Regions from separate parts of the Homo sapiens genome. Here region 2 is linked to region 1. The links are contacts of gene promoters, found by promoter capture Hi-C in human tissues and cell types (Jung and others, 2019). All regions are on one chromosome and are shown on one strand. Each heading gives the region's core, a stretch centred on a gene start or on the middle of the fragment in contact. The rest is flanking DNA. Distances are from core to core; before and after follow the strand shown. Region 1 holds the start of C16orf87 (chromosome 16 open reading frame 87). Region 2 has its middle 20 kb from the start of MYLK3.

Evidence for each region. The method cuts DNA at HindIII sites, captures the fragments that hold promoters and counts their contacts. A contact is called where the count stands out against the background at its distance.
Region 2: a fragment that was not itself captured here is called in contact with the fragment with the promoter of C16orf87 in region 1 in 1 of the 25 tissues and cell types used here (lymphoblastoid cells).

The regions. Positions count from the first base shown.
Region 1 is chr16:46,827,677-46,833,963 of GRCh38, reverse strand. C16orf87 (chromosome 16 open reading frame 87) reads left to right here and starts at 2,784. Exons shown (of 4, transcript NM_001001436.4): 1 at 2,784-2,880. The coding sequence starts at 2,815. RefSeq lists a silencer at 2,438-3,087. The HindIII fragment of the contact is 8,650 bases long and covers 1-6,287 here.
Region 2 is chr16:46,765,349-46,771,635 of GRCh38, reverse strand. No RefSeq gene overlaps it. Among named protein-coding and RNA genes, the nearest start is that of MYLK3, 20 kb to the right of the region's middle. RefSeq lists an enhancer at 2,231-2,766. The HindIII fragment of the contact is 8,068 bases long and covers 1-6,287 here.

The sequences.
Region 1 (6,287 bases), core at 1,535-4,034:
ATAACAAAGTCTGGATGACAGCAAATCTGTCATGGTCTACTAAATATTTCAAGCCCCCTGTTGAGACCTACTGCTTGGAAAAAAAGATTCTTTTCAAAATATTATTACTCATTGACAATGCACCTGGTTACCTAAGGGCTCTGATGGAGGTTTAAGAAATTAATGTTATTTTCATGCCTGCTAATCCATTCTGTAACCTATGGATTAAGGAGTAATTTCGACTTTCAAGTCTTATTATTTCAGAAATACATTTTGTAAGGCTATTGCTGCCATAGATAGCAATTCCTCTGATGGATCTGGGCAAAGTCAATTGAAAACCTTCTGGAAATGATTTACCATTTTAGATAGTACTAAGAACATTCATGACTCATGGAAGCAAGTCAAAATATAAACATTAACAGGAGCTTGGGAGGAGTTGATTACAATCCTCATGGATGACTTTGAGGGGTTCAAGACTTCAGTGGAGGATGTAATTGCAAATGCGGGACACACAGCAGGGTCTCACTCTGTTGTCCAGGCTGGAGTGCAGTGGCACGATTGTGGTTCACTACAGCCTCGACCTGCTGGGCTCAAGCATTCCTCCCACCTCAGCCTCCCAAGTAGCTGGAACTACAGGTGCACATCATGCCCAGCTAAGATTTGTATTTTTTTGTGAAGATGAGGTTTCACTATGTTGCCCAGGTTGGTCTTGAACTCTTGAGCTCAAGCAATCCTCCTGTCTCAGCCTCCCAAAGTGCTGGGATTAATGTTGCAATCTCATGATAAAACTTGAACAGATGAGGAGTTACTTCTTACGAAGGAGCAAAGAAAGTGGTTTTTTGAGATGGAATCTCCTGGGGAAGATTCTGTGAACATAGTGGAATGGCAACAAAGGATTTAGAATATTACATAAATATTAGTTGATAAAGCAGTGGCAGGGTTTGTGAAGATTAACTCCTTTTTTTTTTTTTTTTTTTTTTTGAGACAGGGATTTTCTCTGTCACCCAGGCTGAAGTGCAATGGCGCAATCATGGTTCACTGCAGCCTTGACCTCCTGGGCTCAGTGGATCCTCCAACTCAACCTCTTGAGTAGCTGGGACTACAGGCATACGCTGTCACCACATGGCTATTTTTTAATTTTTTGTGGAGACGGGTTTCACCATTTTGCCCAGGATTTTTAGCCCAATTTTAACATCAACGTGTGTACACTGTTTTTTAGACATAATGCTATTGTACTTTTAATATATTACAGTATAGTGGAAACATGTTTATTATATACACTGGGAAACAACAACAAAAAATTGAGTGTGGCTCTCTTTTTTGCAATGGCCTGGAACTGAACCCCCAGTCCCTCCAAGGTATGCCTGTAAATGGACCAAACAGGAAGCAATTTCGTGGGTTTCATATTAAAAGCTTTAAACATTTATATAACTGTTATTTATACAAAGTGTGCTTACAGGCATTTACTATGTAAAATTGTAACTCATAACTTTGCTTTAGTTAACAATTGTTGAATAAAAAGTTATCAGTGGAATAGCCAGTCTCTGTAATAAATGCATATTGGTAAATTTTCTCTGAGCCAAGTGTACAGTTTGTAAATTTTCTTTCTGTTATGTTTGTTCTGATTGTTTATTAAGTATAACTTTGGGTCTGTCAAATTAAATATTTAAAAGTAAGCTTACGTTTTGCATAGTTGTTTTTAAATTTCACTTTTTCTTTCTTTTTCTTTTTTTTGAGACGGAGTCTCGCTCTGTCGCCCAGGCTGGAGTGCAGTGGCCACAATCTCGGCTCACTGAAGCCTCAATCTCATAGGCTCAAGCGATCCTCCCACCTCAGCCTCTCTACTAGCTAGGACTCCAGGCATGGGCCACCACGCTCAGCTAATTTTTAAAAATCTTTTACTTTTTGTAGAGATGGGGGTCTCGCTATGTTGCCCAGGGTGGTCTGGAACTCCTGGGCTCAAGAGATCCGCCCTCCTCGGCTTCCCAAAGTGCTGGGATTACAGGCGTGAGCCATTGCGCCCAGCCTCGAATAATTTAATTTTAATGTTAATTTAGTAAGTATCAGTCACGGACAGATTGGAAAAAGAAAAACATCTGATCCCTCATCTTGATAGTGAGTAGCACTGGTTTACACAGCTAGGCTGCTCCTTGAAGGCTGACACTGCATTTTATTCAAATTTTCCTGACAGTGGGACTTAGGCAATTATATATTGAATAAATAAATGAATTTTCACTCTGCTGCTGGGTCCAGTGGTCTCATAAAATGTCTATCATAATTTCTCAATGATTAGCCTTGGTAACATCTACTTAAGTTTATTAAATGCCAGGATCCACGCTACGCCCTTCACCATTCATTCCCCAGCCTTCGCTCCCACGGTCTCTGTGGGGATGGGGCGTGCCCAGCACTACGGCCCGCCCTACCTATGCATTCGTTGGTCGAACTCGACGCCCGTTACTGCCGAGTCCCGCCCAGGCCTTGCCCCCTCGTAGTCGGCCAGGCCGAGAGGAGGCGTGGCCACTGCCGCGCCGGGGCGGTCTGGCGGAGGGGGGGGAGGTCTCCCCTCGTCTCGTGATACTCTGGGCGAGCTCGCGGGCGGGCTGTGGGTCGCGAGCCGCCGTGGGAGCGCGTGTCGCGGTCCCCAGGAGCCGCCGGCCGACGCTCCGCCCCGCCCCCTTGGCGCCCAGGTCCCGCGCGAGCTCGCGCACGCGCGCGCGCGCACCCGCCAGAGGCTTGTTTGAGGCCCGCGGGGACTGGGCGGGCGGAGGCCGGGCTGCCGAAGTGTGAGGGGAGGAGCCCGAGCCGTCGCTGCTGCCGCCGCTAAGGGAGAGGAGCATGTCTGCAACTCGAGCCAAGAAAGTGAAGATGGCCACCAAATCATGCCCCGAGTGCGACCAACAGGTGGGTGCCGGGGGCCGGGCGCGCGGGCGGGCGGCAGTGGCTTGGCGGCCGTTGTCTGTGGAGGGGGGCCTCGCCGGGCTCCCGGAGGCCGAGCGGTGGGCAGATCCTGGGGCCCGCCGGCGGCGGCGGGGATCCGGGGCCGGTCGGGCTGCACCGAGGGGTTTCCCGGGAAAAGCCCGGGGCCGTGGCCCGCCAGCGTCCACCTGGCGGCGGCCAGACGGCCAAGCCCCTTCTTGCTGTGTCCCGGCCACTGGAGGAGCGCGCCTTTGGTGGGCTCACCGGGCGGCTGTCTGGAGCCCCAGACTCTCCTCGCCGGCGGCGGTGACAGCGGTGGGAGCCTGCGGGCCGCAGCCCCGGCGAGAGTGTGCCGCACGCCCGCCTCCGAGGCCAGGCCCTAGCTCCGAGAACCCCTCCTGCGGCCGGGGCGGCTTTGTTCCCGGTTCCGACGGGTGCGGGGCTTCCCCAAAACGGCCCCTCCGCGACCGGGGCGGGCGCCTGAGTGGGACAAAGGGGGCCGCGTGTAATGATTTTGAGTTTCGGCGAATTTGGAGATTTTTTCCCCTTCCTCATCTATTTATTATATTTTTGCTGTGCAATCGCGAATCCTGCCTTTACATCGTTTTTAATGGGTCATGATTGAATAAAGCCCCTGTTTAAGCCCTTCCTCCTTTTTGGGCGCTCCTAACTTCCCCACCCCTCGCAGTATCCACTGTTACAAATTTGGCCTGTCTGCTTCCAGATCTGTATCCCTGTCTGTCTGAATGTCTCTGTGTGTCTCTCTCTCTCTCTCTCTCTCTCTCTCTCTCTCTCTCTCTGTCTGTCTCTCTCTATCTCTCTATCTCTCTATCTCGTTTCTTGAATTTGAAACGATTCCTTTCTACATTGAGTTCATGGTGTAATAGTTGTAATTTAAAACATCTCATTTCAGTGATCGCTGTGTTGAAGCGTGTCTCAATTCTTTACTGGAATAATAGACATTCCTTTAAGCCTTAACATCTAATGAGTTAAAACTACTTCAGTTAAAACCATTCGTAAGGCCCTCGTTTGTTACCAACATGTAGATCTGGGTGTGTTTTTTCCTTTTCCACTGAGTGGATTTTTTCAAAATGACTACCTTTCTCTCCTCCCCTCCCCCCACCGCCTTTTTTTTTTTTTAAATCAAGAGTAATTTGAAATGGCTGGAGACTTTTTAATAAGCTGATTTTAGTGCATTTTTCAAGGAGAATTCTTGTAGGTTTTTCAAATCTTTTAACAGAAAACATGTTACATGTTTTATTAAGTATCCTTTATGGGCTGTAGTAAAAATGCTTATCAGAAAAAGGTTGTGCAAGAAATACAGTGTAGGAGCTATACCAGTATGCAGTATAAAAACAGTTTAGTCATGTTTTCCAAAGAGTTACTTTCATTCTTACTACTGAACTAAATTTGTTAAATTTTGACAAAACTGGACTTTGCAATATGACTCTTTGCGGGAGATTATTTCAGTGTTTAAATCATTTCCAATTATTCCAGTTAATTGTGTAGAAGTGTAAGGTTTACATGGTATGCGTTATGCATTCCAATTTCTGTAAGGCACAAGTATTTGCAAATCCTGACTTTGTTCTAATTGGCATAAAGCAACCTTTTGGGAAAAATAGCCACTTTTTATGGCTATTTTTATATAAAAGAGCAAAGGATAATAAACTTATAGGAGTTTCTGAAAAACTGTTCAACAAAACAAGATCAGCGTTTTATTTGGAAAGATCACATTCATTTTGTTATACACCCCCTCCCCCATATTTATTCTTTCATATAAAATCAGCTTACCCAGCTTTGGCTGCCATAACAAAAGCATGATTATGTTCTGGTGAGGGCTCTCTTCTTGGCTTGCAGATGGCTGTCTTCTTGGTGTCCTCACATGGCAGAAAGAGGGTCAAGCTCTCTCCCTTTTCTTAAAAGGTCCCTAATCACATCATGAGGGCCCCACCCTCATGACTTAATTTAAACCTAATTCTCTCTCAAATGGCCCATCTCCAAATACCATCACATTGCGGTTAAGGCTTCAATATATGAATTTGGATGTCGAGGGGTGCATAATTCCACCCAGAGCAAACTAGTACATAATTTAATGAGTTGGTTTGTTTTGTCCTTTATTCCAAATACTTAAGTGAATGTAACATACATAAGGACTAATTAAAACTTTTGGTGATATGAACCTGATGTGAAAAAATAATGGATGAATTTTAGCTTTCTCATTATTTAAAAGTACTAGCTTCTTTTAGTTATAAGCCAGAATATGATTATAATCCAGAAAGCCATTTTCTAAACATTAGAATACTGCTATGATTCTAAGTTGCCTAAAAAAAATTAAATTCGAATTTAGGTATAGTTTATAAACATAAATGTAAAATCTTTAAATTTGAGATTTCCCAGTTGACTAGATTTACTTATGTGGGTGTGTAAGTTTGAAAAATGGGTACAGAGATCAGCAAAGAAGAAAAAGCTAGATTTTCAACTGCTTTGTAACATCTCCTTTGCAGGCTTCTATTGAACATATCATTCTAAAACATCTTAAACCACAGTCCTTTTCATTTTCAAGGGGTTTCATATCCATCAATCACTCAAAATTACTGAGCCATTTTGTGTGCATCAGTGCTCAAGATTCTTGTCAGTTTTCTGGTATCTTTTGTGTATGCTTCTGTTTTTGCCTTCATTTTTAAAAAAAATAGAGCAGCTTTTTTTTAATTTAAAGGACATTTTATGTGATGTATATAAAATATGTCTGGTATAAGTTCCTTTGGTTCTTTCAGTAGTAAAGAATATAAATGAGTTTTCTGTAATGTAATTATTTTGGAGCTTTTAAAAAATCAGTTAAATGGCTGTGTGCAGTGGCTCACACCTGTAATCCCAGTACTTTGGGAGGCCGAGGCAGGTGGATCACGAGGTCAGAAGTTCCAGACCATCCTGGCTAACACGGTGAAACCCTGTCTCTACTAAAAAATTAGCTGGGTGTGGTGGCATGCACCTCTGTAGTTCCAGCTACTCGGGAGGCTGAGGCAGGAGAAGTGATTGAACCCGGGAGGCAGAGGTTGCAGTGAGCCGAGATCGCACCACTGTACTCCAGCCTGGGCGACAGAGACTCCGTCTCAAAAAAAAAAAGTAAAAAAATCAGTGAAACACTATAGGACCAGATTTTTTTTTTTTTCAGATTTAAAAAATCCAGGCTGGGCATGGTGGCTCACACCTGTAATCCCAGCACTTTGGAAGGCCGAGGTGGGTGGATCACCTGAGGTCAGGAGTTCGAGACCAGCCTGGCCAACATGGTGAAACCCCATCTCTACTAAAAATACAAAAATTATCCGGGCGTGGTGACAGGCACCTGTAATCCCAGCTACACAGGAGGCTAAGGAAGGAGAATCACTTGAATC
Region 2 (6,287 bases), core at 2,762-5,261, 64 kb after region 1:
TTTTTTGAGACAGGGTCTTGCTCTGTTGTCCAGGCTGGAGTGCAGTGGTGCAACCATGGCTCACTGCAGCCTTGGGCTCTGGGGCTCAAGCGATCCTCTCGACTCAGCCCCCTAAGTAGCTGGGACCACAGGCACATGCCACCATGCCCAGCTAATTTTTGTATTTTTTGTAAAGGTGGGGTTTTTGCCATGTTGCCCAAGCTGGTCTTGAACTCCTGAGCTCAAGCAATCCACCCACCTCAGCCTCCCAAAGTTCTGGGATTACAGGCAGAGTAATCCACCATCCCTGCTTAGTTAATCTACTTCTATCTACATCACAGCCCTACTCTTACCCCACAACCCCCATTGTTGACAAAGATACTTTCTTTGTTATCTGAGCCTTTTGTCTTGTACATCCTCATTTGTGTTTTTTTTTTTTCACCCTGTCCTTTCTGATTTATGGGCGTTGATGGCCTCTCTAGGCTGAAACCTAAAGACTGTCTCTAGAATCTGTGTCTTACCAGACCAATTTTTAACTTCCTAGGATGGAAAATCCAGTTGTTTCAAATTGATAGAAATCTACCATCAATGTAGACTGGGTTTAGCCAGGCACTCATGCAAGACAATGCCTGCTCTATGCTGTAGACCAAGGGATTGCAAAAGTTGTGATGTTCTTGTCCAAACATGGAGAAACATGAGCTGGGGACTTGTGTGCGATTGTAAGCAATTGAACAACCACACCCAAAGAGGGTGAACTGATGTCACCCTGGAGACAAGTCGTCAGTGATGAGCTGAAGGGCTCTGCTCACTCTGCTCTGATTTTAGCATTTCTTTTAATGACTCAAATGAGTTATCCCTAGACAGCAAGCGTCCACACACAGGCTATGGCCCTGGCTTCCTTGGTGCAAGCAGGCCACATTAAAAAAGTCGTGCACATTTCTCATTTTTTTGACCACCCTCTGTCAATGCCCCTTCCTCAAAATACCATCCCGCAGTCTTTGTGGGACAGTAAATCCAGGAGCTAAGCTCCACAGTGGCCGCCAAACAGGTTCCCATCAGATGCCCTGGGAGTGAAAGATGCAAAGGTGGGGAAATGGCTGGAGCGCAGTCTTTGATTGCAGTGAATGGCAGACTGCAGTTCACCCCAGTCTTTATTCTCTTTTCCTGGGACTCCATTAGTGAATTGTGGAGTTTTGAATTGTCCTTTTGTTTCTCATCTGTTCTTTCACAGTTTATTTTTTCCCCTAGGTTCTGGGAAATTTCCTCTTTTATGATTCCTTGAACATCTTATTTCAGCTATCATTTTTTTTTTTCTAAGATGGAGTCTCGCTCTGTCCCCCAGGCCAGAGTGCAGAGGTGTGATCTTGGCTCACTGCAACCTCTGCCTCCTTGGTTCAAGAAATTCTCCTATCTCAGCCTCCCAGGTAGCTGGGATTACAGGTGCCCGCCACCACGCCCAGCTAATTTTTTTTTTTTTTTTTTTTTGTAGAAACAGGGTTTCACCATATTGGTCAGGCTGGTATCGAATTCCTGACCTCAGGTGATCCACCTGCCTAGGCCTCCCAAAGTGCTAGGATTACAGGTGTGAGTCACTGTGCCCGGCCAGCTATCATATTTTTAATCTATCTAATTGCTTCCCCTTGTTTTCTGATTATTCTTTTTTCAGATCAACCTGTTCTGGTTTTATAAACTTTTTCTTAAACCTCTTCTAGTCGGCTGGGCACAGTGGCTCATGTCTGTAGTCCTAGCACTTTGCAAAGCTTGCTTGAGCCCGGGAGATTGCAGCTGCAGTGAACTATGACTGCACCACTGCACTCCAGTCTGGGTGAGAGAGCGAGACCTTGTCTCGAAACAAACAAACAAAAAACAAAAAACCTCTTTGAGCCAAGTTTTCTTCTATTCCCTGACGATCTTTCCACCAGAGTTCATTTTTCACCTATATATCTTGCTCTTTCTTTTTCAGGCTGCTGGTTCTGGGAATGTCTTGGTGATCTTTGGTTGTCTGGTCATATCTTAAAAAGAAGGTCTATGTGACTCGGTGGCTTCTCCCCAGTGAGAATTCTGACTGGGTGCTCTGGGTATGGGGTCGAGGAGGATGAGGTCACTTGATTGCCCAGAATGAGGACTTTAGTGTACCAAGGTGATGAATAAAAGCCTTTGATTCTCCAATATGGATTGCTTAATTTCTTTTTTCTTTTTCTTTCCCTTTTTTTTTTTTTTTGAGACCGAGTCTTGCTCTGTCGCCCAGGCTGGAGTGCAGTGGCGAGATCTCGGCTCACTGCAAGCTCCACCTCCAGGTTCACGCCATTCTTCTGCCTCAGCCTCCCAAGTAGCTGGGACTACAGGCGCCCGACACCACGCCCAGGTAATTTTTTTTTGTATTTTTAGTAGAGTAACATGGTTTCACCATGTTAGCCAGGATGGTCTCCATCTCTTGACCTCGTGATCCGCCCGTCTCGGCCTCCCAAAGTGCTGGGATTACAGGCGTTAGCCACCGCCCGACCAATACTTAATTGCTTTAAAGAGCTGTCAAGGACTTGTTTGTTTACTTTTGCCTGAGGGTAGATGCCAGCTGCTTGGACTGAGGGCCTGGGGATGGGGGAAGGTGGGGGAGGAGAGAGAGAAGCAGGTGGGTACAGTTGATCCACCCTAGAGCTTTCCCGGCTCACAGGCCTCCTGGCAGCACTTCCCTGCCGCCTGCTGTTTGTCTGTTAACCCTCTCCCAACTGACCTCAGCTTCCAGGGTGTAGGGACTCTCATCCCTGTGTGGTACCCACTTACCCTGTCCTCAGGGTATGAGCTTATTCCTTATTGGACTTCTTGTCCATCAATCTGAAGAGTCAAGGCAGAGACATCCTGTCTGGTTTATTAATGAAAAATGAAAAAAAAATCCCACATGCACGTTTAGTATTTGTTATCCCATGGGTAGTATCTCTAGTAAAAGAACTGTAAATTAACATATTATTTCCATTGAAGTAAATAATGTATTGCTTTAAAAGATATATATGTAATATACAAAAACATGCTTCTTAGGCCGAGCACAGTGGCTCACGCCTGTAATCCCACTTTGGGAGGCTGAGGCAGGGGGATCACGAGGTCAAGAGATCGAGACCATCCTGGCCAGCATGGTGAAACCCCATCTCTACTAAAAATACAAAAATTTACTGGGCATGGTGGCGCGCGCCTGTGGTCCCAGCTATTTGGGAGGCTGAGGCAGGAGAATCGCTTGAACCTGGGAGGTGGAGGTTGCAGTGAGGTGAGATCGCGCCACTGCACTCCAGTCTGGCAACAGAGTGAGACACTGTCTTAAAAAAAAAGAAGGGAAGAAAAAAAAAACTAAAAAACACATGTTTCTTGTAAAAATGCAGATACAAGATGGCTTTTCCCTTTATTTCCCCACCCCAGTTCTGCTCTTTTCCCAGGAAGTGGCTGCTGTTAATAATTGGGTGTATATCTTTGCCAACCATTATTAATGGATTTACGTATCCATGTTCATCTGTCTGATTATCAGTCTCTTCTCAATTTAGACAGGATTAAATTGTATATGTTATTTTGTGATTTTTTTTTAACTCGGTCATATGCCTTGGGTGGCTTTCCATGTCGGTACATGTAGAGCTATCATTCTTTCCCCTACTGGTTGACATTTAAGTAGTTTACAGTTTTTCTAAAAAGGCAGAATCTGTTGCTTTCTTGTTTCATTGACTCTTAGCATGTTTCTCACTGAAATTAAGAAATCCTGGTCATATCTGTAAAGAAGCCCGGTGTGTTGAATGGAAAAACCTAATTGGATGAAATACAACAAGTCGAGCAGATCATACATAAATATGGTAAAACTTAGAAGTGCAGTTTCAACATCAGCCAAATAAAATACTAAAACTTCTTTAATAAAGCGTGTTATTCTATCCCAGTTCGTGAATGAAGCAGAATCAAATCAAATTTATTTTGCTCCGAGTTAAGGAGACAAGCCAGTTTGCTTTTCTTCTGTCAAATATATTTATAACAAGTGCCCAAGTTTAAAATGTCCTTGTTTCTCCCCTACTGTTTGTTTCCTACTATTTTATGCCTATTTTTCTTATTCTCCACACTCTTAAGTTCTTGATTTATCAGTTGTTCTTTTTGTTATAGGTCTTGAAACTGGAATCAGTTTAACCTCAAAGGGACTATCACAATGTAAATTTCCAGTCAAATCCCATTTAAAGCAATGAGAACATGGGCCTGGCACGATGGCTCATTCCTGTAATGCCAGCATTTTGGGAGGCTGAGGTGGGAGGATTCCTTGAGCCCAGGAGTTTGAGTCCAGCCCTGGTAACAAAGCGAGATCCCATCTCTACAAAAATTTTAAAAATAAAAATATTAGCTGGGCATGGTGGCGCACACTTGTAGTTCTAGCTACTCAGGAGGCTAAGGTGGGAGGATTCCTTGAGCTTGGGCAGTTGAGGCTGCAGTAAGCTGTGGTTGTGCCACTGCACTCCAGCCTGGGTAACAGAGTGAGACCCTGTCTCAAAAAAACCACCAACACCAACAACAGAAAACAACAAAAACAGAAACAAAAAAACAAACTGAAGAGAACATCTATAGACAAAACCACACATTTTCAGGATCTAGATCCACACCTTCCCTGGAGAAAGGGAGAAGTCTCCTCTCTCTTTTTATTTATTTTTTTGAGGCAGGGTCTTGCTCTGTTGCCCAGGCTGGAGTGTAGTGGTGTGATCACAAGTCATTGCAGCCTCGACCTCCTGGGCTCAAGTGATCCTGTCACCTCAGCCTCCTGAGTAGTTGGGACCATAGGCACGGGACATGCCACCATGCCTGCCTAACTTTTTTTTTATTTTTTGTAGCAATGGGGTCTCACCATGTCTCCCAGACTGGTCTTGAAATCCTGGGCTGAAGTAATCCTCCTGCCTCAGCCTTCCAAAGTGCTTGGTATTACAGGCATGAGCCACTGCGCCTGGCCGAGGTCTTCACTTTTGAAAGAGCACAAATCCTTTACATGGCCAGTTCTGGCAGGTCTTTTCTACCATTCCACACCAAAAGATTTTCAGAGTTCTGCTATGCTGAGATTAGCATTGAATTTCACTGGCTGTGTGGCAGAATGACTTTACTTCCCATTTTCACATTTTTTTAATCTGCAGAAACTTGGTACTCACCAGGTGTCCCTTTGCAAGGCTGGGTCAGAACTCCAGCTTATATCCTGCTCTTAACAAGAGCAGCTACCACTAAGGGGGCACCTGACTATGTGCAGGCACTGTTGTATGAGTTTCACATTCATTTTCTCACTTAATCCTCAAAATATTCCCATGCAGTAGGCCTTGATGGGGAAACTGAGGCCCAGAGCAGTTGGGTCACTTGCTTAAGTCACACAGTGCTTCAGATTCCTGAGAGAGCTGGGCTTCAGACCCAGTCTGCCTGGTGCCAAAGCCTGGACTTTTAGCCTCTGTGCTACACGTTCACCACTAACCAACTCTCTCTCTCTTTCTTTCTTCCTTCCTTCCTTCCTTCCTTTCTTTCTTCTTTCTTTCTTTCTTTCTTTCCTTCCTTCCTTCCTTCTTTCTTTCTTTTTTCCTTTCTTTCTTTCTTTCTTTCTTTCTTTCTTTCTTTCTTTCTTTCTTTCTTTCTTTCTTTCTCTTTCCTTCTCTTTCTTTCTCTCTCTCTCTCTCTCTCCCTCCCTCCCTCCCTCACTCCCTCTCTCCCTCCCTCCCTCCCTCCCTCCCTCCCTCTCTCCCTCCCTCCCTCCCTCCCTCTCTCTCTCTCTCTCTCTCTCCTTCCTTCCTTTCATTCTTTGGTTCTTTCATTCTTTCAACAGAGTCTCACTCTGTTGCCCAGGTTGGAGTGCAGTGGTGCAATCATAGCTCATGGCATCCTCAAACTCGTGGGCCCAAGTGATCCTCCTGCTTCAGCCTCCAGAGTAACTAGCTCCGGGCATGCACCACTATACCCAGCTAATTTTAAAATTTTGTGTAGAGACAGGGTCTCCCTGTGGTGCCCAGACTGGCTCTGAACTCCTGGCCTCAAACGATCCTCCTGCCTCAGCCTCCCAGAGTGCTGGGATTACAGGCGTGAGCCACCCCATCTGGCTTAATGAGCCCTCTTGAGCACGTGAGAAGGGAGACCTGCAGCCACCACCTGATAGTAACAGGATGGGTGACTGTGGTAGACTAGATAATGGCCCCCCCAAAAAAGATGTTCCTATGTTAATCCCTGGAACCTGTGAATGTCACTTTACAAATCAAAAAAAGGACCTTGCAGATGTGATTAAGTTCAGGATCTTGAGATTGGGAGACTGTCCTGGATTAGCCAGGGGGGCCTCG